5 separate regions of the Homo sapiens genome follow, and all the other regions are linked to region 1. Evidence: promoter capture Hi-C in 16 types of primary human blood cells and fetal thymus (Javierre and others, 2016). All regions are on one chromosome and are shown on one strand. The core of a region is centred on a gene start or on the middle of the fragment in contact, and the rest is flanking DNA. Distances in the headings are between cores, read along the strand shown. Region 1 holds the start of STAG1 (STAG1 cohesin complex component). Region 2 overlaps MSL2 (MSL complex subunit 2). Region 3 overlaps MSL2 (MSL complex subunit 2). Region 4 has its middle 10 kb from the start of MSL2. Region 5 has its middle 18 kb from the start of PCCB.

Region 1 (2,619 bases), core at 81-2,580:
ACTTTCTCAAGTAAACACTATTTTTGCGAAGATGCAAGTCTTTCTAGTCAGAATCACGAGAATAAACTCTATCCATCTTAACACCAACTTTAACAGCAAATAATTTTTTTTTATGACAAATTGCGTTTTTTTTTTTTGTTTTTTTTTTGTCTGTAAGTGTCCAAAACTATCCTATGACTTATACTCCCGGAGCACGATTCCCTGCAATGTGAAGAGAATCGACAGATAACATTTCAAATGTGGGTAGATGGGGGTGACGTGACAATCCTAAAACCTGAAAATTTCTTAGTACCCATACCATACAAGAAGAACCCAGTTCGGACCCTGCAAACGGGGCTCAGGTCCAACTCCAAGCACTCTAGTTTCCCACCCCGCCCCCACCTCGAGAAAGGAGGGAAAACAACTTTTATTGGCCTCGTCTCTCAGGGGACTGGCAAACTAGCGGGGCAGTGCTTAGGCCTGGACACGTTTCACAAGGAGGCCCCCGTCGGGGGCTGAGAGGGCAGATAGCTGGAAAGCCCAGCATTGATGCATCTCCCCCAGCCGCCACCCCGCTGCCCCACCCCGCCAACAAGAAGCCTGGGCCAGCCGCCCCGCCGAGCGACCCCCCAGGCCCCTCCGCTGAAATGAACTCGTTGTCATGTGACGCCGCCGCCGCTAAAACACCGCAGAAACGCAGGTCGGCAGGCGGCGGAAGGCATTCGCGCCAGCCCGCGTCGGCCCGGCCCCGCTGGGCGCGGGCGACTCCCGAGAGCCCGGGCGGGGGGGGGCGGAGGGCGGGCTTGGCGGCGGGCCCGAGCGCGCCACAAAGGCTTCCGCGCCTGTCGCCGTAGTGCCCGGGCGGGCGGGGGCAAAATTTTTGGTGCCCGCGGGAGGGGTGGCAAGCGACGAAGACGCCGGGGTGCCCACCGCGCCCACAGACGTCTCTCCGGGCACTCGGACGGCCCACGACCGCCGCACCCCGCACAGGCCCGCGCGGCCTCCCTCCCCCGCACGGGGCCCGCGCCCGGCCCGCCCGCTCGCCGCTCGCGCTCTCTCGCTCTCGCCCGGCCTCCATCTTGGATCGGCGCTTCCAGCCCCCGCGCCGCTGCCGCCGCATTCCCCCTCTTTCCCGCCCCCCGCCGCCGTCGCCGCCGCCCGCACTCACCTCAGCTGCCCATCCGGGCGCCGCCGACCATCGACCTAGTTTCCCCCCAAAAGTCTCCGGTGTGTTATTCCCGATGTGGGGGGGTTGTTACGGGGTGGTCGCCGGGGGTTCGGGAGCGGGGGCCGCGCCTTCAACGGAGCTGCAATCCTAACCCGCCATCTGGTGGCATTTTCCACACGCCAATGGCGCCGCTGCAGACTTGGGTCCGGACCGCCCTCTGCTGGCCGCGGTGCTCACTGCCTTGCTGACGGGACGGGCCTGCCCGGAAAGGGGAGGGAGCTGAGGCGCGAGCTAGGGGCCGCGGCAGGGGCGCGCGCAAACGCTTTCCAGTGGGGATTGCGCGCACGCGCACCAGCGGGGCGGGAAACGTGGCCGCTGCGTGGCGGCCCCGCCCCCACACGGAGCGCTCGCGCAGTTCAGCCAATCGCGAGAGGCGTAGGCTTCTGGATAAGGGCGCTGTGGACGGTTCTTGGGCCGCCCGCGGCTGGCGGAAGGACGGCCACGGTGGCGCCTGCGCGTCCGGCTCGCCGAGTTGCCGCCCGCCATTTTTGGAGCTTCTTGGAGATCTAGGCAGGAACCCGCCCCGGGTTCCTTCACCGAGGCTCCTCCCTAGGTCTCAGGGCCGGCGCTTTCCTCTGTTCCCGCCCGGCTCCTGCTGCCCCCATCCGCAGCTCTCGAGACGCCCTGCGGAAACCCGAGGGTGAGGCCGCGCAGATCCCTGCTCCTACTTGGATTTAGCAAGGGCCTCAGAGCTTAGCATTGTATTCGCGATTTACGGCTGACAAGCGCTTTCACCAGGCAAGAGTGAAAAGGTTTCAAAAGGACTATTGGGGACTTCCCTCGCCATTAATCTAGACGAAACACCGCCGGCCCTAGGCCGATTGGCGTCATCCTGCCTCTGTAAAGCACATCTTTCCGTGGTGTCGGCTTTGCATAAGGCGGCAGCATTGGCTAGTTTGTGAGAGGAGAATATAACTAGACTGAGAAGATAGACTCAGCTGTGAAAGTGGATTTCTCCCTCCACAACCTAGGACTACTTTCAGTAGCTCTGAAATACACATGAGAATCTTAGCCTTCTAGATGCCAAAAGAGAAATAATCAGTAAGGTGAAATCATTAACAAACTATTTATGTTTAACGTCGCCTCTTCCCTGATCTCCACCTGCCCGTCCGTGGCCATGGATCCCTACCTTTCACCTGCTTACAACTTTTCACCACAAAAGTGAATCCTTACTCTCCTGGATCATTAGCCCCATATATGACTAACTTCTCTATCGCTATAGCCAACTCTATTTCAGTATGGAATCGCTCAACTACTTTATAGTCTTAAGGGCCTGTCTCCAGTAGGTTACCCCTATTTGTGTTTTCTCTCTCAAGGGTTTGCAAGATGTGTGGCTTTTCGCTGGAGGAAGTCATAACTGACCAGATTGGATATGAATTCGTGACTGGACTCCTACTTATAATTTTCTTGCG
Region 2 (2,619 bases), core at 89-2,588, 580 kb before region 1:
GAGAAAGTATTCTACTTTCTGTTCCATCCCGAAACATGTCCTAATGATGAATGTTTTCTGTATGTTTGGCATTGTAAAAGTAATCATTTTCTTTCATTATATTATTACTCAACATTTACCTGGGTATGTCTCACAAACATGAGAAAATGAGACATGTTAAATCTTTAAAAATTTAGCAAGTCATTGCTGTTTCAAATCAAAAGGAAGTGTAAAGTTAGTCACTGTTACAAGTCAGATTCCTAGGCATGCAAACTCTTAGGACAGGTTAGTGTGCAGAAAACTTATGAAGAGCTTCTCTCAGGATTATCATTTGTAAAGGAAGGAAGGAAGTGGCTGGGATGAACTCACAAAAAAGGCCTCAGATGACCCAAAAGAAACTCTAAAGCTGAATGACTCCTTAGGGTTGTCCTATGCTGGGCCCAAGGAGCCAGGTACTTTAATGAACCAGAACCTGGAGGCACACTACTCACAACGAAAGCATGTGACCATGAATGAGTTGCTCTCTTCAGCCAAGGATGATTCCCAGACAGGTCTCACAGCCTCAGCAGCACACCCACTAGCTAAAAGAATGAATTTCTTTAAGCCTTAAGTGGGGATTTGGGTATTACATCATGGCATCCACTACAATCAGTAATTCTGTAACTGTCCAAGTCTGACAAATTTTGAGTAAAACAATGTCATATATATTAATAGTGTGCTCCTAAGTGATTTGGCCCTCAGTTTCTTAAAGCTATTAACTAAATATCTAGGTTCTTTTCACAGCTGTAAAATTTGATGATTCCAAGACGTATGGCCAGGTCTATAAAGGGTGTATCAAAAGCCTTGCATTTGGGTATAATTAATTTTCACTAGGTATCATGTTGAGGTAACAGGTATGTATGTGAGAGTTTTATTCTACTTTGTATGTTGAAACTTTTTCTTTTTTTTGGAGACAGGGTCCCACTCTGTTGCCCAGTCGCTTAGGATGAAGTGCAGTGTCATGGCTCATCGTAGCCTCAACCTCCTGGGGCTCAAGCAATCCTCCTAACTCAGCCTTCTGCGTAGGTGGGACCACAACTCCTGGCTCAAGCGATCCACCCACCTTGGCCTCCCAAAGGGCTGGGATTACAGGCGTGAGCCACCGCACCTGGCCTGTATATTGAAATTTTCTATAAACGTGACAAAATAAAGTCCAATGAAAGCTTGAATATTTCTACTTATGTCAATTTTTTCATGCTTCCAAATTTACCAGAAGGTTTACATATTTAAGTATTCTCCCTCTCTCCACCTCTCATCATACTCATACTCACTCCCCGACAACACATACACACATACAGTACCCTTTTCTTCTTCCCTCCTACGTAAATCCTCCTCTCCCTCCAATGCTTTGGCTCACATACCTCCCATACTCCCCCCACCCAGTTACCTATACCTAATGTTATTTATACCCTCTCTCTCACTTCCACCTTCAACCTTCCTTCCTATAGCAACTCCCCATCCAGTTATTCCCTATGCAGAAGCTTCTCACCAGAATGTGTCTTCTAATGAAAGGCAAAAATTGCTAATCCCAAATGTAGTGGGCACTTCTGGTTCATTATTCTTCCCTTGAAATGCTCTCCTCCTTTCTCCCCTAACACTGTCTCCGTCATCTCCTCTACATCCTCTTCTGTCCCCTCATTAATTTTAGTATTTCCCATGTTTCCTTAATAGGATCTACTCTCCTTACTCCCTTTCAGTAATCCTTAGTAATCCTTACTGACACAGACCCCTTTGAGAATCTGACTATACAAATGTGTACGTCTTCAGTTCAAGAGCTAATAAAAAAAAAAGTACAAATTGTTGTTCAGAATCTTATGAGGATCATTAATCTTTTCCCCTTTTGAAACAGACATGACACCATACAAACTTTAAAACTGACCTACGGGGCCGGGCACAGTGGCTCACACCTGTAATCCCAGTACTTTGGGAGGCCAAGGCAAGAGGATCACTTGAGGTCAGGAGTTCAAGACCTGACTGTCCAACATGGCGAAACCCTACCTCTACTAAAAATACAAAACCAGCCAGGCATGGTGGTGTGCGCCTGTAATCCCAGCTACTTGGGAGGCTGAGGCACAAAAATCGCTTGAACCCAGAAAGCAGAGGTTGCAGTGAGCTGAGATCACGCCACTGCACTCCAGCCTGGGCGACAGAGCAAGACTTTGTCTCAAAATAAACAAACAAACAAACAAAAGAAGGTGGAACATACTTCTTTCTAGAGTGATTGCCCATAAAGCTGTTTTAACTACTGTTCATAAACTGGTGACTTCTGAATCTGTATCTCCAACTCAAATCTTTCTCCCCTGAACTTCAGACCCAATATCGAAGTGCCTACTAGGAATCTCATCTCTCTTTTGCCAACCCACAGGTAATTCAAGCTTAACATGAGCAAATATAAATTTTATCTCCCATAAATCCCCACCTAAAAGCCTGGTCTTCCTCCTGCATCCCTTATTCTCTTGGTACTGACACTATCATTCATTCACAAACTAAATACCTTGAAACCACCCAGACTCTTCACCTCCATTCCATATCCAATTGTTCTCCCTGCATGTAGTTTATAAAAATCTGCCAATTCCACCCCTTCAGGTTTTATTTGCATGA
Region 3 (2,619 bases), core at 80-2,579, 560 kb before region 1:
AAACCCAATTTACTGCTGTTTACACAAGCCAAAGGTTTTCTCCTTCAGGCCTTACTTAAAAATGTCCACTAGGCCAGGCGCAGTGGCTCACACCTGTAATCCCACCACTTTGGGAGGCCAAGCTGGGGGAGTTCACAAGGTACAGAGATCGAGACCATCCTGGCCAACATGGTGAAACTCCGTGTCTACTAAAAATACACTAATTAGCTAGGCGTGGTGGGGCATGCCTATAGTCCCAGTTACTCAGGAGACTGAGGCAGGAGAATCGCTTGAACCCATGAAGCAGAGGTTGCAGTGAGCCGAGATCGCACCACTGCAGTCCAGCCTGACAACAGAGCAAGACTCCATCTGGAAGAAGAAAAAAAAAAAAAAAAAGTCCACTAACAGGCTGGGTTCAGTGGCTCATGCCTATAATCCTAGCATTTTGGGAGGCCAAAGTGGAAGGACTGCCTCAGGCCAGGAATTCAAGACCAGCCTGGACAATACAGCAAAACCCCATCTCTACAAAATATCTGAAATTTAGCAGGGCATTGATGGCGTATGCCTGTAGTGTCAGCTACTCAGGACGATGAGGTGGGAGGACTGCTGGAGCCCACATCGAGCCACTGCACTCCAGCCTGGGGAAGAGAGCAAGACCCTGTCTCAAAAAAAAAAAAAAAAAAAAAGTATCCACTACACCACTTCTCTTGGCCCAGCTCAAGCCCCACACCTACCAGATCTTACCAGACTGAAACAGTCTCATCTGCCTAATTCTACAGTACCATACTGCCTGCCTTGAACCCACATTTAAACTATTATTACCTTTTCAACTTATCATAAGATGAAGGGCTGCAAATCAAACCTCTTTTCATCTCAGCACTGGTAACAATGCATTTAGGGAGTCCTTTCCCTAAAGCAGTATCATCTTGCATAAATATACCCAAGTAGAAGCAAATATTTTAGAACTTTTATAGATTTTTCTTAGGAGATTTTCCTTAGGAAAAGAGATCATACAAGCCTGGGCAACATGGTGAAACCCTGTCTCTACAAAAAAAAAAAAAAAAAAAAAAAAAAAACACACACACAAAAATAAGGCGAGCATGGTACCGCACGCCTACAGTCCCAACTAATTGAAAGGCTGAGGTGGGAGGACAGCTTAAGCCCAAGAGGTTGAGCTGCACTGAGCCGTGATCATGCCACCACATTCCAGCCTAGGCAACAGAACAAGACCCTGTCTCGAGAAAATTAAAAAAAAAAAAAAAAGTTAAGAAAATAGATCTGCTATCTATAGCTGAATTGTATCTACCAAGAAAATTACTAACTAAACACAGTTCTTCCTACCTGCATACTAGATAAATGTGCTCTAAAGAATTCTTCCCAGAGGCTGGGCGCAGTGGCTCACACCTGTAATCTCAGCACTTTGGGAGGCGGAGTCGGGCGGATCACGAGGTCAGGAGATCGAGACCATCCTGGCTAACACAGTGAAACCCCTTGTCTACTAAAAACACAAAAAATTAGCCGGGCGAGGTGGCGGGTGCCTGCAGTCCCAGCTACTCAGGAGGCTGAGGCAGGAGAATGGCGTGTACCCGGGAGGTGGAGCTTGCAGTGAGCCAAGATGGCGCCACTGCACTCCAGCCTGGGCGACAGCGAGACGCCGTCTCAAAAAAAAAAAAAAAAAAGAATTCTTCCCAGATCAGAAAACAGGTAAACTAAGAAAAAACTGTTAAAATAGACCCTGTTTTAACACCAATGTTTAACCTCTGACCAAAGAGCTATTCAAAAACAAACTCTACACAAATAAATGCGCTTTCATGGTTAATTTCTGAAACTTTACATGTACAAAATGTTAATTGGTAAGTTTTCTACAAATATTAACCAGGCGCGGGGGTGCACTTTCGTAGTTCCTGCTACTTGGGAGGCTGAGGTGGGAGGATCACCTGGACCCGGGAGACAAAGGTTGCAGTAAGCCGAGATCATGCCACTGCACTCCAGCCTGGGCAACATAGCAAGACCCTGTCTCAAAAATAAAAAATTACTAATTTTTCTATCGTGACACATGAGGTCTGTTATAGCTTAAGTGCCTCTACTCAGCACTTGGCCAATAATTGTTGGTTTACTTGTCTTCCCAGTAACACTGACCAATATATATGGGCCTGTGCCATGTGTCTTATTCATCTTTCTATCTTAGCATCTAGAACATCACAGGTGACCAATAAAGAAATAGTACAGCTACCGGGGCTCACACCTGTAATCCCAGCATTTTGGGAGACCCAGGCCAGATGAGTTCAAGACCAATCTAGACAACACAGCAAGGCCACATCTCTACAAAAAAAATTTTTAAATTAGCCAACCACGTGTGGTGGCGCACACCTGTAGTGTTAGCTACTCTAGAGGCTAATGCCAGAGGACTGGAGTTGGAGGCTGCAGTGAACTATGACTGCACCACTGCACTCCAGCCTGGGTGACAAAACAAGATTGTCTCAAAAAAAAAAAAAAAGGAAAATATTCATGTTCCCGAGTTTGACCATGATACTTTCCAAGTTATCTCCAAGAATAGTATTTTTCCATTTAACATGACCCTCCAATCCTAACAGGATTTTTGATTGTATACATCAGACTTGTTACATCATTTGAAGAGTT
Region 4 (2,619 bases), core at 82-2,581, 550 kb before region 1:
TAACAGAACAATTTTGGAAAAACTAAATATCCATGCATGGTAAAAAGATGACTATAAAGACATACACCAAAATATTATTTTTTTCTGGATAGTGGGATTGTGGAAAATACTTGTTTTTCTTATTGTCTGTATACCCATTTTGAATTAAAGCTTCCCTCTTCTATTCTCCAATATTGCCAAGTGCTTACCTCTTTCTTTTCTTTTTTGAAGGCAGTTTTATAATTTTATTCGATGTATTTGACGATCAGCGATTAGTTCTCATCCACGTTGAGTCTACAGATTTTTGAAGGTGGTAACAGGTATATAGGTAACCAAAGTATAGAAATTATTTGGTGAATCTTCATCCTCATTACGTTTTCTGGACAACAGCACACAGATTCAGTATGGAACATTCCTTGTTCCTTTGGCCCAGACAGCTTTGTTGAGCCTGGTATCAATGTGCACATCTGGAGTTCCCATCTCCTTCATGGCACATTTCCGAATCTCTTTGAGTGCCCTAGGGGCACACTTCTGGAAGCCCGCTCCATAGATGTGGTTGTGAATGTTGATGGTGTATGCTCGGGTCACTACCTCGTTGATAGCAGAACGGCCTTTTTTCTTCTCGCCACCCTTCTTTGTGGAAGCCATTCTGCCAGGTCCAAGTTGATAAAAAGCGTGTTTACCTCTTTTGTTGCACTACCACACTATGCTGCAGTTGTTGGTTTAGCCCTGTTTCCTCCCCATTATATTTCTATAACTCTTAGGAGGTCAGTTTTCTCCCTCTTTGCCTCTTATCCTCATTGCTTAGCATAAGGTCTGACATATAATAGGAATTCAATAATTGTTAAAATAATGATTAATGTGACAATATAAGTAAATTCACTAGTATAGTGTGTAGTACCTAATAGGCATGGAAAATTGTTTGCTTTTTCCTTGGGGAGAGATATAAAATGCCTTACAAATTTGAAGCCAGTTCTTGTTTCAGCTTGATCAAATCAATGTTAATTATAAGGTCCTTAATAAAACCAAAAGTGTGAATTGATTTGAAACACTCAGAATATCAATCATCAAGTATTTATTGTATGCACTCTAGCACTTTGGAGACAATGAAGTAAATACAGAAATAGTTGTAGTTATGTTTTCAAAGAACAAAGATCAGGCAAGCAGTCAGAGAGACTTTCTGACGGGTTAGATTGTTTACAAAATAGCTAATTTTTGTCTTCCTTTCCCTTCCTCTTTCACCCTCCTTCCTCTGTCCCCTCCTTTATCTTCCTCCACCAAAAACTCTCTGTAGAGATGATGTTCCCTCTCCCACTTTCTCAAGTTGCATTCTCCCTCATTGCTTATTATTTCTATCCCATCGTTTTCACCATTATACACATCCCTACCAGATTTTAACAAATGCCTGGCCGGGCACCATGGCTTATGCCTGTAATCCTAGCACTTTGGGAGGCCAAGGTGGGTGGATCACCTGAGCTCAGGAGTTCGAGACCAGTCTGGGCAACATGGCAAAACCCCGTCTCCACCAAAAATACAAAAAAATTAGCTGGGTGTGCTGGTGCACACCTGTGGTCCCAGCTACCTAGGAGGCTGAGGTGGGATGATTGCTTGAGCCTGGGAGGAGGAGGTTGCAGTGAGCTGAGATGTCACCACTATACGCCAACCCAGGTGACAGAGTGAGACCCTGTCTCAAAAACAAAAGCCACAAATGCTTAATCTACTGTCATTGTGGAAACCAATAAATCTAATTAAACACAATCTATGGGAAAGTAAAAATAGCATAATCTAAACTCATGAAAAATCTTCAGAGATTGGCCAGGGTAGTACTTCTTTATAGGGAGCAGTAAACCAGATGAAATTAAACTAGGCTGTAATTCAGACTGATACTTCTGTTCTTTCCTGATCATTCCTTTCTGACCATTACCAAACTTCCTCTTCCATCCTCTGCTCTTAGCTGTGGTCATAGCTCTCCCCTCCTCAGTCCTAGAGCTCCCAAGAACCACCTCCCTTCCCCCTCCAAGCAATTCCTGCTGATATTTTTTCCATAACATTTTCCAAATCAATGTATCTCTCCATTGATTTAATCCAAAAACATGTATTTAGCAAGTCAAGCACTCATTTATTTTACACCTCAAATATTAAATTTTTTTTTTATCTTCTTCATCTCTAACTCCAGCCTTAACAAAGCAGCTTGCTTTATTGGTCATCTACCTAAGACAGTGCCAAACGCATTAAGGGATCCACTAAATGTTACTGTTTTTATTCCCCAAGACACTTTCAACAGTATTCAAATGCCTATTAAATTTGTCCATTCATTTATGCAACCAACGTTTATTGCCAGTTATATGCCAGGCATTCAGAATACAAAAATGAATAATTCAACAGTTTCTAGCCCTCAAAGAGTTCACAGTCTAGTTGGGGTGGCAGCTATGTACACGGCTAATTTATAATTCAGAGTAGTAAGGATTTAGGGATCTACTTGACGCAAATCTAAAATGTCTTAGCAGATATGGCTGTTACATTATGAGTTAAACAAGCTTGTGTGGACTTTCCTGAGAAAAATAACTGCAATTATTCATGGCATTGTTTCTAAGGGAAAATGTGTTCTGCATTCCAAACAGTCAATTTAAAATTGAATTT
Region 5 (2,619 bases), core at 48-2,547, 520 kb before region 1:
TAAACTTTGATGATGTCCGTGGGAGGAAATAAACTACTGTTTTATTTAGACCACTGTATTTACGTATTTTTATTATTTTTTTTTTGAGACAGAGTCTTTTTCTGTCACCCAGGCTGGAGAGCAGTGGTGTGATCTTGCCTCACTCCAACCTCTGCCACCTGGGTTCAAGTGATTCTTGTGCCTCAGCCTCCCAAGTAGCTGGGATTACAGGTGTGTGCCACCATGCCCAGCTAATTTTTGTATTTTTAGTAGATATGGTGTTTTGCCATGTTGGTCAGACTGGTCTTGAACTCCTGGCCTCAAGTGATCTGCCTGCCTTTGCCTCCCAAAATGCTGGGATTACAGGTGTGAGCCATCATGCCTGGCCAGGCCATTGTATTTAGCAGTTCTTTTATACAGCAACTTAGTTTTTTTCCTAATATACCTTCTTCACTTCAGACCTACAGTAGGCTTTTTGTTTTGTTTTGTTTTTTCCCTAGACTAAATGCTGCAGTAGACTTTTAAAGCAGATCTCCTAATATATCTACCAGACCTTTAATTCATCTTACTCAGTATTGACTTGTTAAACTAAGAATCACTTTGCACAGACTTCACCACTATCCTCTGCTCAAGAGCTACAGTTCATTCATTCATTCATGCAGTAGTTATTTCAGCTACCATGGTAAGTATGTTTCAGTCACTGCCCTAAGTGCTAGAAGCTAGAGATGCAACGTGACACAAGAAAAATGAAGATAATACTTATCTTGGAGTCCTTGCCATCATGTACCTTACAGTCTAACTGAAGAGAATGACAAGATTGACCATCAAATATTCACACAAATAAATATAAAATTACAATTTTGATAACTGTTACTAATAAAAGGAGCATGGTGCTAGGACACATAGAAAGGTTTGATTTAGTTGAAGAAATCAGGGACGGCTTCTCTATGAAAGTGTAAGGCTGAGATATGAAGGATGAGTAGACATTTTGAAGAGCAGACATTACTGAGAGATGAACCTTCCACCCAATGAAGGCAAAGACCCTGCAGAAGTAGAGAACGTGCATTTCAGGAGTTGACAGGAGACAGAAGACCAGTGTGGCTGGAGCAGAGAGACTGAGGGATAATACTGGATGAATTATAGATATAGGTAGGGTCTAGGCCATGTAGGCTCTTATAGGCTATGTTAAGAATCTTAGCTGGGCGTGGTGGCTCAGGCCTATAATCCCAGCACTTTGGGAGGCTGAGGTGGGTGGATTACCTGAAGTCAGGAGTTTGAGACCTGCATGACCAATATAGTGAAACCCCATCTCTACTAAAAATACAAAGATTAGCCGGACATGGTGGCTTGCACCTGTAGTCCCAGCTACTCACAAGGCTGAGATGGGAGGATTGCTTGAACCCGGGTGGTGGAGGTTGCAGTGAGCTGAGATTGCGCCGCTGCAGTCCAGCCTGAGAGACAGAGCGAGACTCCATCTCAAAAAAAAAAAATCTTTGTCATTGTCATATGAACATTGAGAAGTCACTGAAGAGTTTCTATTTGAAAATCAGAGAAATTAGCTGGGCATGGTGTTGCACGCCTGTGGTCCTAGCTACTCCAGAGGTTGAGGCAGGAAGATCCCTTAAACCCAGTAGGTCGAGACTGCAGTGAGCCATGTTCATGCCACTGTACTCCAGCCTGGGGGACAGAGGGAGAAGTTGTCTCAAGGAAAGTTTTAAAAAGGGATTTAGGTTTGTGAGTGACATAATCATGAAATATTTGCCTGGATGGATTAATTAGTTCATTATTTATTTTTGTTCTTCTTTGTTTATATTCTCCCCTGGGCAGGTCATCCACTTTCAAGTCATGAGGAACTGAACAAAGGAGACTAAGAATGAGTAGCCAAAGACATAGGAGGAAAAGCTGGAGTGTGAAAAGTTGGAGTGTGTTATGTCAAAAAAGCCAAAATAATGTTTTATGAAGGAGGAACTGAAAAAGAAGCCAGGCGTGGGGGCTCACATCTATAATCCCAGCACTTTGGGAGGCCAAGGTGGCAGGATTGCTTGAGCCCATAAGTTTGAGACTAGCCTGGGCAACATGGCGAGACCCTGTCTCTACCAAAAAAAAAAAAAAAAAAAAAAAACAATTAGCGGGCATGGTGGCACAAACCTGTGGTCCCAGATACTTGGGAGGCTGAAGTGGGAGGATCACTTGAGCCTGGGAGGTCGAGGCTGCAGTAGGCCATGATCATGCCACTACACTCCAGCCTGGGCAACACAGCAAGACCCTGTCTCTAAAAATAAAAATAAAAATAGAAAAGGAAAGAGTAGTCAATAGTATTCAATGCCACTGAGAGATTAGGTAAAATGTAGACTTGATATGTCCATGGCTTCCCAATGCCTACAGGATAGAGTCTAAATTTCTCATACTGGCATTCAAGTCCCACAACAATTCTATCTTTACCTACTTTTCTAACATTTTTTCCCATATCACCTCTAAAGTAAGCCCTTTAATAAGGTGCCCTTCAGATAAGGTGCCCTGTTTATTTTACCTAGAACACATATTACACTCTGCCTACATATCATCATTGGATATATTTTCTGTCCATCACCACTTGTCTAAATTCTACTGATTTTCTAGGTCCTGTCCCTCTTTCACTTC

The links. Contacts are between HindIII fragments. The CHiCAGO score rates a contact against its expected background, and 5 or more counts as called.
Region 2: a fragment that was not itself captured here is called in contact with the fragment with the promoter of STAG1 in region 1 in 13 of 17 cell types (fetal thymus, total CD8 T cells, non-activated CD4 T cells and 10 more); the score reaches 12.8 in fetal thymus.
Region 3: a contact is called between a fragment that was not itself captured here and the fragment with the promoter of STAG1 in region 1, in 17 of 17 cell types (fetal thymus, neutrophils, total B cells and 14 more). The highest score is 26.7, in fetal thymus.
Region 4: a contact is called between a fragment that was not itself captured here and the fragment with the promoter of STAG1 in region 1, in 17 of 17 cell types (fetal thymus, non-activated CD4 T cells, total CD4 T cells and 14 more). The highest score is 20.9, in fetal thymus.
Region 5: a fragment that was not itself captured here is called in contact with the fragment with the promoter of STAG1 in region 1 in 1 of 17 cell types (total CD4 T cells); the score reaches 5.0 in total CD4 T cells.

The regions. Positions count from the first base shown.
Region 1 is chr3:136,751,048-136,753,666 of GRCh38, forward strand. It overlaps STAG1 (STAG1 cohesin complex component), which reads right to left and starts at 1,331. Exons shown (of 34, transcript NM_005862.3): 1 at 1,148-1,331. It overlaps STAG1-DT (STAG1 divergent transcript), which reads left to right and starts at 1,624. Exons shown (of 1, transcript NR_185911.1): 1 at 1,624-2,619. RefSeq lists silencers at 655-1,034, 1,355-1,584 and enhancers at 776-1,707, 1,595-1,914, 1,708-2,619. The HindIII fragment of the contact is 7,208 bases long and covers 1-2,619 here.
Region 2 is chr3:136,170,979-136,173,597 of GRCh38, forward strand. All of the region lies in intron 1 of MSL2 (MSL complex subunit 2), which reads right to left. Among named protein-coding and RNA genes, the nearest start is that of MSL2, 24 kb to the right of the region's middle. The HindIII fragment of the contact is 318 bases long and covers 1,180-1,497 here.
Region 3 is chr3:136,188,082-136,190,700 of GRCh38, forward strand. The region is part of intron 1 of MSL2 (MSL complex subunit 2); the gene reads right to left. Among named protein-coding and RNA genes, the nearest start is that of MSL2, 6.9 kb to the right of the region's middle. RefSeq lists enhancers at 1-403, 1,038-1,539. The HindIII fragment of the contact is 3,029 bases long and covers 1-2,619 here.
Region 4 is chr3:136,205,289-136,207,907 of GRCh38, forward strand. It overlaps the pseudogene RPL31P23. Among named protein-coding and RNA genes, the nearest start is that of MSL2, 10 kb to the left of the region's middle. The HindIII fragment of the contact is 2,366 bases long and covers 149-2,514 here.
Region 5 is chr3:136,230,815-136,233,433 of GRCh38, forward strand. No RefSeq gene overlaps it. Among named protein-coding and RNA genes, the nearest start is that of PCCB, 18 kb to the right of the region's middle. The HindIII fragment of the contact is 8,086 bases long and covers 1-2,619 here.